Linked DNA regions of Homo sapiens: all the other regions are linked to region 4. Evidence: promoter capture Hi-C in 16 types of primary human blood cells and fetal thymus (Javierre and others, 2016). All regions are on one chromosome and are shown on one strand. Each heading gives the region's core, a stretch centred on a gene start or on the middle of the fragment in contact. The rest is flanking DNA. Distances are from core to core; before and after follow the strand shown. Region 1 overlaps TRERF1 (transcriptional regulating factor 1). Region 2 overlaps TRERF1 (transcriptional regulating factor 1). Region 3 overlaps TRERF1 (transcriptional regulating factor 1). Region 4 holds the start of TRERF1 (transcriptional regulating factor 1).

The links. Contacts are between HindIII fragments. The CHiCAGO score rates a contact against its expected background, and 5 or more counts as called.
Region 1: a contact is called between a fragment that was not itself captured here and the fragment with the promoter of TRERF1 in region 4, in 1 of 17 cell types (M1 macrophages). The highest score is 6.3, in M1 macrophages.
Region 2: a contact is called between a fragment that was not itself captured here and the fragment with the promoter of TRERF1 in region 4, in 3 of 17 cell types (M0 macrophages, M1 macrophages and M2 macrophages). The highest score is 8.3, in M0 macrophages.
Region 3: a fragment that was not itself captured here is called in contact with the fragment with the promoter of TRERF1 in region 4 in 1 of 17 cell types (M0 macrophages); the score reaches 6.8 in M0 macrophages.

What each region holds. Positions count from the first base shown.
Region 1 is chr6:42,225,793-42,228,492 of GRCh38, reverse strand. TRERF1 (transcriptional regulating factor 1) reads left to right here. Exons shown (of 18, transcript NM_001395490.1): 18 at 1-2,700. The coding sequence ends at 148. All of the region lies in intron 1 of LOC105375061 (a long non-coding RNA gene), which reads right to left. Among named protein-coding and RNA genes, the nearest start is that of MRPS10, 9.3 kb to the right of the region's middle. The HindIII fragment of the contact is 1,673 bases long and covers 493-2,165 here.
Region 2 is chr6:42,247,005-42,249,773 of GRCh38, reverse strand. All of the region lies in intron 13 of TRERF1 (transcriptional regulating factor 1), which reads left to right. Among named protein-coding and RNA genes, the nearest start is that of MRPS10, 31 kb to the right of the region's middle. The HindIII fragment of the contact is 1,332 bases long and covers 672-2,003 here.
Region 3 is chr6:42,265,088-42,267,885 of GRCh38, reverse strand. It overlaps TRERF1 (transcriptional regulating factor 1), which reads left to right. Exons shown (of 18, transcript NM_001395490.1): 6 at 2,089-2,135. Among named protein-coding and RNA genes, the nearest start is that of MRPS10, 49 kb to the right of the region's middle. The HindIII fragment of the contact is 5,156 bases long and covers 1-2,798 here.
Region 4 is chr6:42,450,636-42,453,335 of GRCh38, reverse strand. It overlaps TRERF1 (transcriptional regulating factor 1), which reads left to right and starts at 1,410. Exons shown (of 18, transcript NM_001395490.1): 1 at 1,410-1,662; 2 at 2,075-2,159. It overlaps LOC124900214 (arf-GAP with GTPase, ANK repeat and PH domain-containing protein 2-like), which reads right to left and starts at 976. Exons shown (of 4, transcript XM_047419627.1): 1 at 1-976. The coding sequence starts at 515. LOC107986596 (a long non-coding RNA gene) reads right to left here and starts at 976. Exons shown (of 5, transcript NR_171668.1): 1 at 711-976. RefSeq lists silencers at 1-395, 866-945. The HindIII fragment of the contact is 2,023 bases long and covers 1-1,878 here.

The DNA of each region.
Region 1 (2,700 bases), core at 80-2,579, 220 kb after region 4:
GATCAAACCCATCAAGGATGTGGACATCCTCGACGACGACGTCGTCCAGCAGTTGGGAGGTGTCATGGAAGAGGCTGAAGTTGTGGACACCGATCTTCTCTTGGATGATCAAGATTCAGTCTTGCTTCAGGGTGACGCAGAACTATAAAGCCCTGTGTGTCACTTAGAGACAGTGAAAACCCACGGCCTCCATCTTCATTAATCAGGAAACCTGGACTGCCTGCTTGTTTTGTAACCCTTTTAAACTACCTGTTTTAAAAGTGGTCATTTTATTCAGGTTTAGAAAAAAAAATCCTATTTCTTTTCCTTTTATTTAAAAAAATTTGTTTTTGTGGGGGGTTGGGGGAATAAATAATTGGCACAACTATCTTTAAGAGGTGTTTCATCTGGGCTACCTTCTCATGAAATCATTCCCAGTAGGGACTGAAGCTGACCTTCATGTTCCATTGCATTCAGATGTCAACCATCCCGGTTGCCTTTTATCCCAAAGCTTGCTGTGAGTGTGTGTGTGTGAGACGCAGGCGACCCTCTTAGTACTGGGGTCTTGGGGCCAACTTTTCCCATCAAGCGTTACTTTGATTCTGTTCTGACCTCATTCCATAGTTTGCAGTGAGCATGGCATCTTTGCCTGGAGATACTATGCTAGGGGCAGCTTTCCAGGGGCAAAGCAAGCCCTCGTGTTACACGGCTCTCCTCCAGCTCACACGACATGTGAGGAGATGACCAAATGTGAAAACAGGTTTCCCCTGTGTTGCCCGTCATCCTTTGGCCCGTTCACAGGAATGGAGTACTGTATAATTTTAGGCTTTCATTCCCAGCAGTGTTTACTGAGGACCTGGTTTTCTAGAACAGGTGTGTCCTGTCCTCTTCCATGTTCCCTGGGGGCTGGTCAGCTCCAAGTTGTGGGTGGCAGAGCTGTGTTTCAGCATGAACTGACTAGAGACCCATCTGGAGGCAAATATTAAGTTGCCAGGACTGCTTTCACTTCAGGGTGATTGAAGGACACATATTGAAGTACCTAGAATGCCAGAAAGTGTTCTATTGCCCAAAAAACAAATCAGAAAAGCCTATTCTTTTTTGCAACGCTGTTAATGATTAGTGGAGTTCTGAAATTACTTTGTGCCACTTGGAAGTACTGTGAAACCGCATTCACTGGGATTTTGCTGTAATTCACATCCGCTGGACTGAAGTTTACCTTGATGTTAGCTATAAGAAATAGTTTTCTAACACATACGATAGCAAATACAAGACAAATAGCATTGAAGGCCAACAAAAATGGCTTCAGATACACCTTAGCTATAATGTTTGCATTCAAACAATGAATGTATTCATCACAAGTCACTTACCAAAGCACTTCTAGACTTCTCCAACCTCCATGACTTTGCTCTGCTTCCTCCTGTCCCTGTCAGCAGGGTTGCTGTTTGTACTTGAAGGTAATAAACCTGTAATCCTTCAAAAATGCCATTTAGCCCCAGGCTTCTGAGCTGAGTCAGACTGACCCATCCCACCGTTAGGGCAAAAGTCAGGCTGGGACACAGCGCCAGTACAGAGAGGATCCTGCTTCATGCAACTCCCCTTTTGGAGTTAATGCAGCGTGATTTCCTGGGCCGGTGTTTTCAGGCATCGCCCACCCCAGGTATGCTGGTTCCCAGCTCCACGTAGGTGTGCCTATCACGCTGGGCCACTTTGCTGACAACATTCATAGCTTGACATGAGAGAGAATATCAGCAGAAGCATGAGAGTAGGACCTGACGTCTTTGACTCTGCAAAAGCATTTAGCACACACTCATGGGGGGGAACTGGCTGTGAGCCACAGCAGCCCCACACAGACAGTGGTCTCTGAACTTCAGGAAAGCCATGGACAGAAAAAAAAATAAAATTCTTTTCCATCATTCTATTTTCAAAGAGGTCTTGGCGTTTTCCTACATCTTTTGTTTAGAGGGGGAAAAAAGTTTCATTTGCTGCCATTTCAGAAAGGTTATGCTATCCTGTTTTATCCAAGCAGTTGTGAGTCAGGAACTGCCTGGGCAGTGTGCATCAACTTTGTGGCCGAACCATTACAGCTGTCATATCCTTGGCTGATCGTCTCTCCCAGGGACTACTGCCCTCCACTTAGTGTCTGAGGGTAAGCCTAGAAGGGTGCTGCTATTGGGTCTATGGAAGCTTATCTATCAAAGGAGCAAACATCCAGAAAAGTGTTTATAAAGCAAATGTATTGCCTCTGTTTAGAGATTTGCCCAGCTGTTCCAGTTTTAAACATTAAAAAATAAACTCAGTTGCCATGGCAAAAATAGAATGCACAGCTTACTTATAATTTTCCATGCAGTATAGCATAAGGATTTTTGACTTGAAACAACCAAAGAACTCCTCCTTAACGAGACAGTTCAAATTCCTGAATTAGTATTTCTTGACTATCAACTTAAAGAATGGACTTCCTAGTACAATGTTGCACTTATTTTTTTTTCTGAAATAATTCTGCCTGCATGTATGTGTTGTGTTTTAGCTTCTCCCCTTACCCCACCCCAAAGATCTTTTCTTCCTAATGGTTAATGTCTCAACTCGGTTACTGTTTACTATCAGATGGTTTTTCATTAGTGAATTTAGACCTCTTTGAGAAAGCTTGTATATAAAAAGTTAACAGATATATTTTATGGAAAAACCCATCTTATTTTCAAATATATTTAACTGCTGTTATATTTT
Region 2 (2,769 bases), core at 88-2,587, 200 kb after region 4:
CAAAGCACAAAGCCTAGGACTGTGCAGAAGAGCCACCTCTTACTGTCTTAAGACTGTGCTCCCTGACCCAGCCCTGTATCCCTTGGAATGGGAGAGTGACATAGAGGGGCAGGGAGAACATGCAGCCCACTCCATCTCAGGATGAGTTGTACAGAATGCACACTCCGGAATCAGGAAGCCACCAAATCCTATGACAGAGCAGCAGTCTTAAAAACCACCAGGAATCAGCAGGGAGAAGGTCTCCTTCCCCCACGAGGTTTGGGGATCTCTCCTAACAGATGGGCCAGGAAGTTACATCACCAGTGGAGTTGCATCTGGCAAGCAATTTGGAAACATGAAGGGACATGCTTCTCAGAAATCGACAGGCCTGGGAACTGAACACTGCTTTTGGGGCCAGAAATCAGGTAATGAGCCTGGTGGGTAGAAAAAAGTATATCCACTGCAGAGACTGGCTGAGAAGGCTGGATGGCCCTGTTAGTGTCTTGTCATGTCTCAGAGCTGCACTCTAACTTAGGAAACTGATGGTCTGGTTGAGGTTGGAAAGAATTATCATTGATCTAGTTGAGGGTTTCATCAGCAAAATGTCCCCTGATTCCCCATCGGAGATGCAGCTGAGGGCCACACGGATTCTGGACCTGCAGCAGGGCAGCAGAGCAACCTCTGTGTAAGCTTGTGTGAGTCAGCTGGTATGACAGACCGCCATTGTGGTCTTCCTTCCATCATTATCTTTCTGACTCCTCTTACCCGTTTGCTGTTTTGGTGGATACCTAAAAGGAACCATGACGGTTGTTTGGTTGTTGAACTGAATTGTTGGTGATTCCTTTCTGTGTCCTTCTTTCTACCTCTGTTCCTGGGTAAGGGGACCCCAAGGCTTTGAATGTTGGACAGAATTTGAAGAATGGTGATGGAAGTGATATAGAGCCTCAAATCCCACCAACCCCCTGTGCTCACATGCACTCCGGCAAGTATTCTCCAAACCCCCAGCCCCCCTGAGGCTCCGTGTTACTGTGGTCTGCACGGTCAGAGCTGTCCAGCCCTCTGGAACCCATGGAAGATGACTCCCTTCTGCTGAGTATTCATGGGAAAGCTGCTTTCCTTCTAGAAGTAAAGAGATAAGTTTGCAGCTGGGCACAGTGGCACACGTCTGTAATCCCAGCACTTTGGGAAGCTGAGGCAAGCGGATCACTTCAGGTCAGGAGCTAAGGCCAGCCTGGCCAACTTGGTGAATCCCCATCTCTGCTAAAAATACAAAAATTAGCCAGGTGTGGTGGCACGCACCTGTAATCTCATCTACTCAGGAGGCTGAGGCAAGACAATCACTTGAACCCAAGAGGCAGAGGTTGCAGTGAGCCGAGATCTCGCCACTGCACTCCAGCCTGGGTGACAGAGCAAGACTCCATCTCCAAAAAAAAAAAAGAAAAAGATAAGTTTGCAAACCAAATAAATTGGGTGGTGGCCCTGCTTTTGTAGATGTCTGACCCCGCCCAGCTGTGGAGAGCATATTCTGAGTCTGGAGCCAAAGCTCCTGGCTTGAGGACCCATCAAAGAGCTGCACAAGGAAGTTGTTTATTTCAGAAATGTGAGTTTATGTCACTGAGCCATATATTCTTCTAAGGACCCTAGGCTCCCCACCTGTGGTCTAAGGAGGCCCCTGCCTGCCCAGAGCATTTTTGCCTGATTCACTTATTTTGGCCAAACCCTACAAAGAAAGAGGCGATTAGGGTTTCCTGTACTGCAGTCCCATCAGTTGACCATAGCAAAATGGAAACCTTGGACTCGCCCGGAATGGGAGGAAAGATATTATGATTTGGGGTACTAGTGTACCCCACTAATGAAGTATAGTGAGGTAGGGTACTAGTGTACCCCACTAATGAAGTCTAGAGAAGTGTAGTGAGGTCAAAGCCTTGGCCAAATACCATCCAAAGAATCAGAGATGTGGAGAATTCAGCAGGCCAGAAGAATAAGACTGAGTTTTCTCTGAACCAGCCACAGTGGTGGAAGCTTCCCTAGAGCCTCCAGAAATAGGAGTCCCCTTAGAAGTAGGCCTTATTTCTTGCCCCAAACAAGCCAGTATAACTTTATATTATTATCTGCATATCGTGCTTTCTTTCATGGAGGAAAAAGACATAAATATCAGGTTTAGCCAGTAAGGAAGATGCACCAGCCCAGCAGTGAAGCCTCTCCCTCTTCGGTCGGCAAATCTGTCAAGAACTGGCTCCACTCACCTCTCCAGCCTCATCTGCTTCTGCTGGAACCTTATACTTGAACCAGATTAGATTACTAGTCGTTCTTTGAAAACCTCCATTTCCTCATTTGTCAAATGGGCTCATCATCCTAACAATCTTACAGGATTGTTAGTAGAACCTAATGATGAATAACTGAAGTACTTAGAACCTGCCACTTAGTAAGCACTTAGAAATGTTAAGCTATTTTTCCTAGTACAGCATCTTGCTTGTAATATACACCTAATAAATATCTGTTGAATGAACAACTGAAGTGCATGACTTCACTCTTGCCTCTGACTTTGCACATCCTGCTTCCTCTCACCAGAATACTCTTCCATCTCCTTATGATCTGACTTGCTTCTATGTGACCTTTAAAACTCAACTCATGTTTTCTCTAGCTGGAAGCCCTCCTGGCTGCCCTGGCCCTAACCTGAGTGTGGTGTTTCTCCTTTGTGCCCCATTGGCACCTCGCCTCTACCTGAATAATTACAATTACCACCTTGAACGTCATGGCCTACTTGTTTGTCTCCCCAGTAGACTGTGA
Region 3 (2,798 bases), core at 28-2,527, 190 kb after region 4:
GTCAAGACCTTGAGTCACATGCCAGGGGACCACACAGTGTTGGTGTCTCAGTTCCCTTGGATCTGTGTGCTCTGGATATGCTCTGTGACATTGGTCCCCCTTTGGGAGGGAGACCACGTTATGACAGCATTTCTCAAAGTATATTGCTCAGAACAGCCATTCCACAGTGTTTAATGGATATTGCTGGGGAAACAGTGGGTTCTCAGGATAAATACACCAGGGTTTTTGTTTTTATTTTTGTTTTTGTTTTTTTTGAGATGGAGTCTCACCCTGTAGCCCAGGCTGGAGTGCAATGGCGCCATCTCGGCTCACTGCAACCTCCCCCACCTCCTGGGTTCAAGTGATTCTCCTGCCTCAGCCTCCTAAGTAGCTGGAATTACAGGCACACACCACCACACCCAGCTAAGTTTTTGTATTTTTAGTAGAGACAAGGTTTCACCATGTTGGTCAGGCTGGTCTCAAACTCCGACCTCATGATGCGCCTGCCTTACCTTCCCAAAGTGCTGGGATTACAGGTGTGAGCCACTGTGCCTGGCCCCTTTTTTCTTTTTTTAGACAGGGTCTTGCTCTGTCACCCAGGCTGGAATGCAGTGATGCAGTCATAGCTCACTGCATCCTTGAACTCCTGGGCTCAAACGATCCTCCCACTTCACCCTCCCACATAGCTAGAACTACAGGTGCATGCCACCTGGGCCTGAGCACTTTCTTTGGTTTGGTTTTGTTTTGTAGAGACAGGTCTCCCTATGTTGCCCAGGCTGCTCTTGAACTCCTGGCCTCAGGCGATCCTCCTGCTTTAGCCTCCCAAAGTGAAACAGGGTGCTGTACTGCAGGACTTTTTGTGACCTTTAATATGGTAGTATGCATTGTGAGTCTCGCAGATACCATGTGTGATTGTGGAGATGAAAACCTTAGCTGCCCACATGATCCAGGCTGGGAAAGTAAATAAGCAAAACTGTCTGGTATGAGACATTAGGCAGTGGTGGTGACTGTGAACTAGAGAGCAGATGCCCCATCCCATAGCATTCTCATTAAGGGTTTTTAAAAAACAGTCTAGCCAAACAAACATGTCTGCAGGCCGGTTCATCTTGTGCACCATGATTAACCCTTGATTTGTTCCCAAAAATATTTGACCAGAAAACAGCCTACTATGTGCTGGGCACTTTTCATGCCTTGGCTTATTCCAAGGCATACAGTCACATGACAGCAGTGTCTGAGGAGGAGGTGACCCCAAATGGGAACTGGTTGGATAGAAAGAAAGTTCTGATGGAGGTTGAAGGCCAGAGATGAACTTCCCCTTGAGTTTGTTTTGTCTGGGGTTCAGAACCAGTGGTAACTGAGAGCCTTTGTAAATATAAGAATGAGATGATTTGGCTAAGGCTTTTTAAGAAGAATTCCAGGGCCAGATATGGTGGTTCACACCTATAATCCAAGCACTTTGGAAGGCCAAGACAGGAGGATCACTTGAGCCCAGGAGTTCGAGACCAGCCTAAGCAACATAGCGAGACCTTGCCTCTACAAAAAATCAAAAATTTAGCTGGGTGTTGTGGCGCACACCTGTAGTCCCAGCTACTTGGGAGGCTGAGGCAGGAGGATTGCTTAAGTCCAGGTGGTGGAGGCTGCAGTGAGCCATGATCATGCTACTGCACTACAGCCTGGGTGACAGAGCAAGACCCTGTCTCAAAAAAAAAAAAAAAAAAGAATTCCATCAGGGGGTCTCCTGGCATAATGCTGCGTCTCCCACCTCTTTCTTCTGTGTCCCTTATGGGAATGGAGTCTGTCTGTGCACAGAGTGGGTGCCCTGGGAGAACAGGAAAAAACACGGTGGGGGAGTTGCATCCTGGTGGGCTTGTTGTGGCTGGCAGCAGCTCCAGGAGTGGGGCGGTGGTCCCAAGTCAAGGAGCAATTCAGGGACAGAAGTCAATTGCAGAAGAGTGAGGGAGTGAGTGGACATGAATGGGGTCAGCACGAAGCAGACAGCAGAAAGAGTCCTGGAAGAGTACCTGGTGTTCCCACTGCTCGAGGACTTCTCCCTTCAGAACACGTTTTTTTCTCTTCTTTTTTTCGGTGTCCTGTTTGGCTCAAAATTAGATGCACCTACCTGATGGGAGAGCCCAGCCAGGGTCCCCTGAGTCAAGGTAGGATGAGTGGAACCTTGTTGGTATTTTGGGAGACGGGGAGGATTTTCTGGGGTGTCTCTCATGATTCATTTTTAAATTCCAAGTCATTCCTCAAAGAAGTGTGTAGAAATAATAATAGCAGCTGTTGTGTTTGAGTGCATACTATGGGCTAAGCACTAGGCATTATGTATAGTAAAGTAACCTATGAGGGTGGGTGTGATTACGATGTGCCTATACTCAGTAAGCACTCAATAATTGTTAGCTATTATGATTGTTACTTTACAGATGAGAAAACTGAGGCTCAAAGAGCTTAAGGTTACATATCAAGTAACAATGCTGGGATTGACTGCAAAGCCCATGTTCTGTCCACTGTGCATTCATTCAGTATTTATTGAGTGCCTACTGTGTGCCAAGCATAGAGCTAGGTTTTGAGAATGCAGCAGTGAACAGTACAGACTTGCTTCCTCATCCCATGGGCATGGTCAATAAAGATTTAGCCAAACCTGATAAACTGCTGAAGCGTGCAGTACGGCGGCTGCCCCAGGAACTTGCACAAATGTCTCTAAGTGGGGAGGCTTTTGGAGGAGCTGGGCTCAGGCTGACCCTGGAAGGGTAATAAGCTATCGTTCCCAAGTCAAAATCCATTGCCTGAAGCCTTGGTATGAAGAAGGACATTTTGTT
Region 4 (2,700 bases), core at 161-2,660:
CGCGCCCTGCCCCCTGCTCGCAGCTGCTCCCGGTTTGGGTGCAGCGGTTTCCCCCGCAGAGGAGGAGGAGGAGACAGCGCGAGGGAGCGACTCCGGGCTCGGGTTTCCGCACCAATGCCGAGCAGCCCCGGGCGGCCCCCGGTGGCCGTCCCTCCTCCCCGGCACCACGTTCCACAGTCATGGCGCGCGAGGAGGGGCGAGCGCGCGCGGCGGCTGCACCCGCGCCCCCTCTCCTCCCCTCCCCTCCGCCGCCCGGCCCCTCTCCTAGGCAACCCCCCTCCCCGGCCTGCTGCGCCTGCCGCGGCAAGGGAGACCCCTCCCCAGAGAGCTGCTCTTCCAGCGCGGTCTACTGCACCCCTTCCCCGCCCCCATCGGGGCGGAGGGATGGAGACGCGCGCTTCGCGAACCTCCAGCCCCTTCTCCGGAGCCCCAGCCCTCTCCCAGCCCCACCGAGGCCAGGGTGCGGTGGGGGTAGGCGCGGACCGTCTCCTCGCAGCCCGCCTCGACCTCGGCATCTTTGCAAACACTTAGAAAAATAAACAAACCCCCTCACAAACCCCAGTCGTTAGCTTGCAAAGCGTGTTACAATAACCGGGACGGCTACGCAGGAAGCAATCCTGCACTGGTCCGGGTTTAAGGCGGCAGCTTCCCGGCCACGCTGCCTTCTCCCCGGCCTCGATTTTCCGGCCATGCCGGAGGGTCCGCTGCACCTCAGGGCTGACAGGTCCCGCTCGCGCAGGGCCGCAACTGGGCCCGTGTCCCCCGTCCCATCCTCGTCCAGAGACTCGCCAGCCTACAAAAGGTGCAACCTCACGCACACGCAAAGCGCACAAATAAAGTCAGCAGCGCACCGCCGCGAAGGCTGCGAACAATGCGCCGGGCGGCCCGCGCCCGCCGTAGCGCTGCGCCCCGGGGGAAAGGGGACGCGGGCGGGGGCCGAGGCGGACGACCAGCCGGTCGCGGCGCTGGACACCTTACTTCCTGCTTCCCCGCCCGCGGCCAGACCCAGCTCTGCGGAGGGATATCTCCCCTCCTCGGTCCCTCTCCCTCCCTTCCCCCTCCCTTCCCCCGCCCTCCCCCTCTTTTTGCTCCTGCTCCCCCCCCCCACCCCGCCTTTCTCCTTTTGCAAGAAAATAATTTGACAGTCGATTTGCTGACAAGGGAGGAATTTGCATCCTGGATTTAAAAAAAAAAAAAAGGCCGAGAGGAGCTTGGGAACGGTTGCTAGGGGTGGGTAATGGGTGAAAAAAGGGGGGTACCGGGGAGCGGATAAGGAGGGTTAAGGGAGGGGGCGAGGATGGGGAGCAATGCAAAGGTAAGGCCAGGTTACCGCGGCTCGGCCCCGAGTGGGCTGCGACCGGGGGAGGGGCGAGAGATACATATGTATTTCTGTCTCCCCAGCACACCCCCTTCCCTCTAAGCGATGGCTGAGAGGCGGTGCATGCAGATGGGGAGTAAGTTTCCTGAAGGGGAGGGTGGATGCACGCGCGCAGCCCGGCGCTGCAAATTTCCACTGGGGAGGGAGAACGGCTGGATGCGGAGAGTTTGGAGTTGCTTGCGGCGGAGGGCAGGAAGGGGAGCAGGGCTGGGAAAGGGGGCTGGCGGGCGCTATATCTGGGAGTAAGTTTCCAGCATCAGGAGAGCCTGCACGCTTGCTCACTAGTAAGTTTCTGGCCGGGGAGGGCGCATGGGGAGGAGGAGAGGGAGGGGTGCATGTATATAGAAGGGGGGAGGGGGGAGCAGATTTCCTGCGGGGAGGCTGAATGCATATGGAGAGTAGATTTCCTGAAGGGAGGGTGGAGGCGTAGACGGACCGAGTAAGTTTCTTGCTGGGGTGGTGGAGGAGGTGGTGGGTTGGTGCTTTGGAAACCCAAAGCTTCCTACCCTGGGTGGGGGAGCACACTCTTGTCGGGGGGACGAGGGGCCAGGTTCCCTGCTGGGGAGAGGGGCTTGCATCTGGGGAGTATGTTTCCTGGCGGAGCGATATTTGTTTACAGGCTGAGGGCAGTACAGTAAGTGAGTAGCGCTGAGAGAAGGCGGCTGACATAAATTAATATTGAAATTACTCCATCAGCTCTGCTCGCCCCCCATCTCACCCCCCAAGCGGATACTGGTCTTCTCGTCGGATTGCCCATGCACTTGTTGCAGAAACAGCCAAGGTAGGCAAGAAGCTTATTAAGTTTCATTTTTAAAAAATTAGTTTGGGGATGCTCCTCGAGAAGACGGGGGTGGGGCGAAGTGGGGAGGGAAGAGTGGGGAGACAGAAGGAGAAGTCTCCCCCCCCTTTACTTTCACTATGCAAGCAGGCCTTCTCCCTTCTTCCCTTCTTCCCTCTCCGGGCTGCACAGCATCCCAGCAAAGGGGGAGGGATGAGGTGGGCGCTATAATTGGCAACCCTGGCTTAAAGGTAGTGATGGTGGGCTTGCATTTGAGGTTGTGATGTTATAAAGGCTTCATTCTCCAGCTAAGAAACCGCAGGACTCTGCCTTTTGGGGTTTTTGACATGATACATATGTGTATGTATACGCGCCTGCGGGCTCTGTGGGGGCTGGGTACTCCCCAGAAGTTAGTGTGGCCACCCAGATGGGAGAAATGTGTAAGGGGGTAAACCTGTTCCTTCACTCCCCAACTTCAGTTTGGGAGACTGGGAAGTTACTGCCGGTGGTCTTAAGAAACAGATATTAAAAACCAACCAAACCA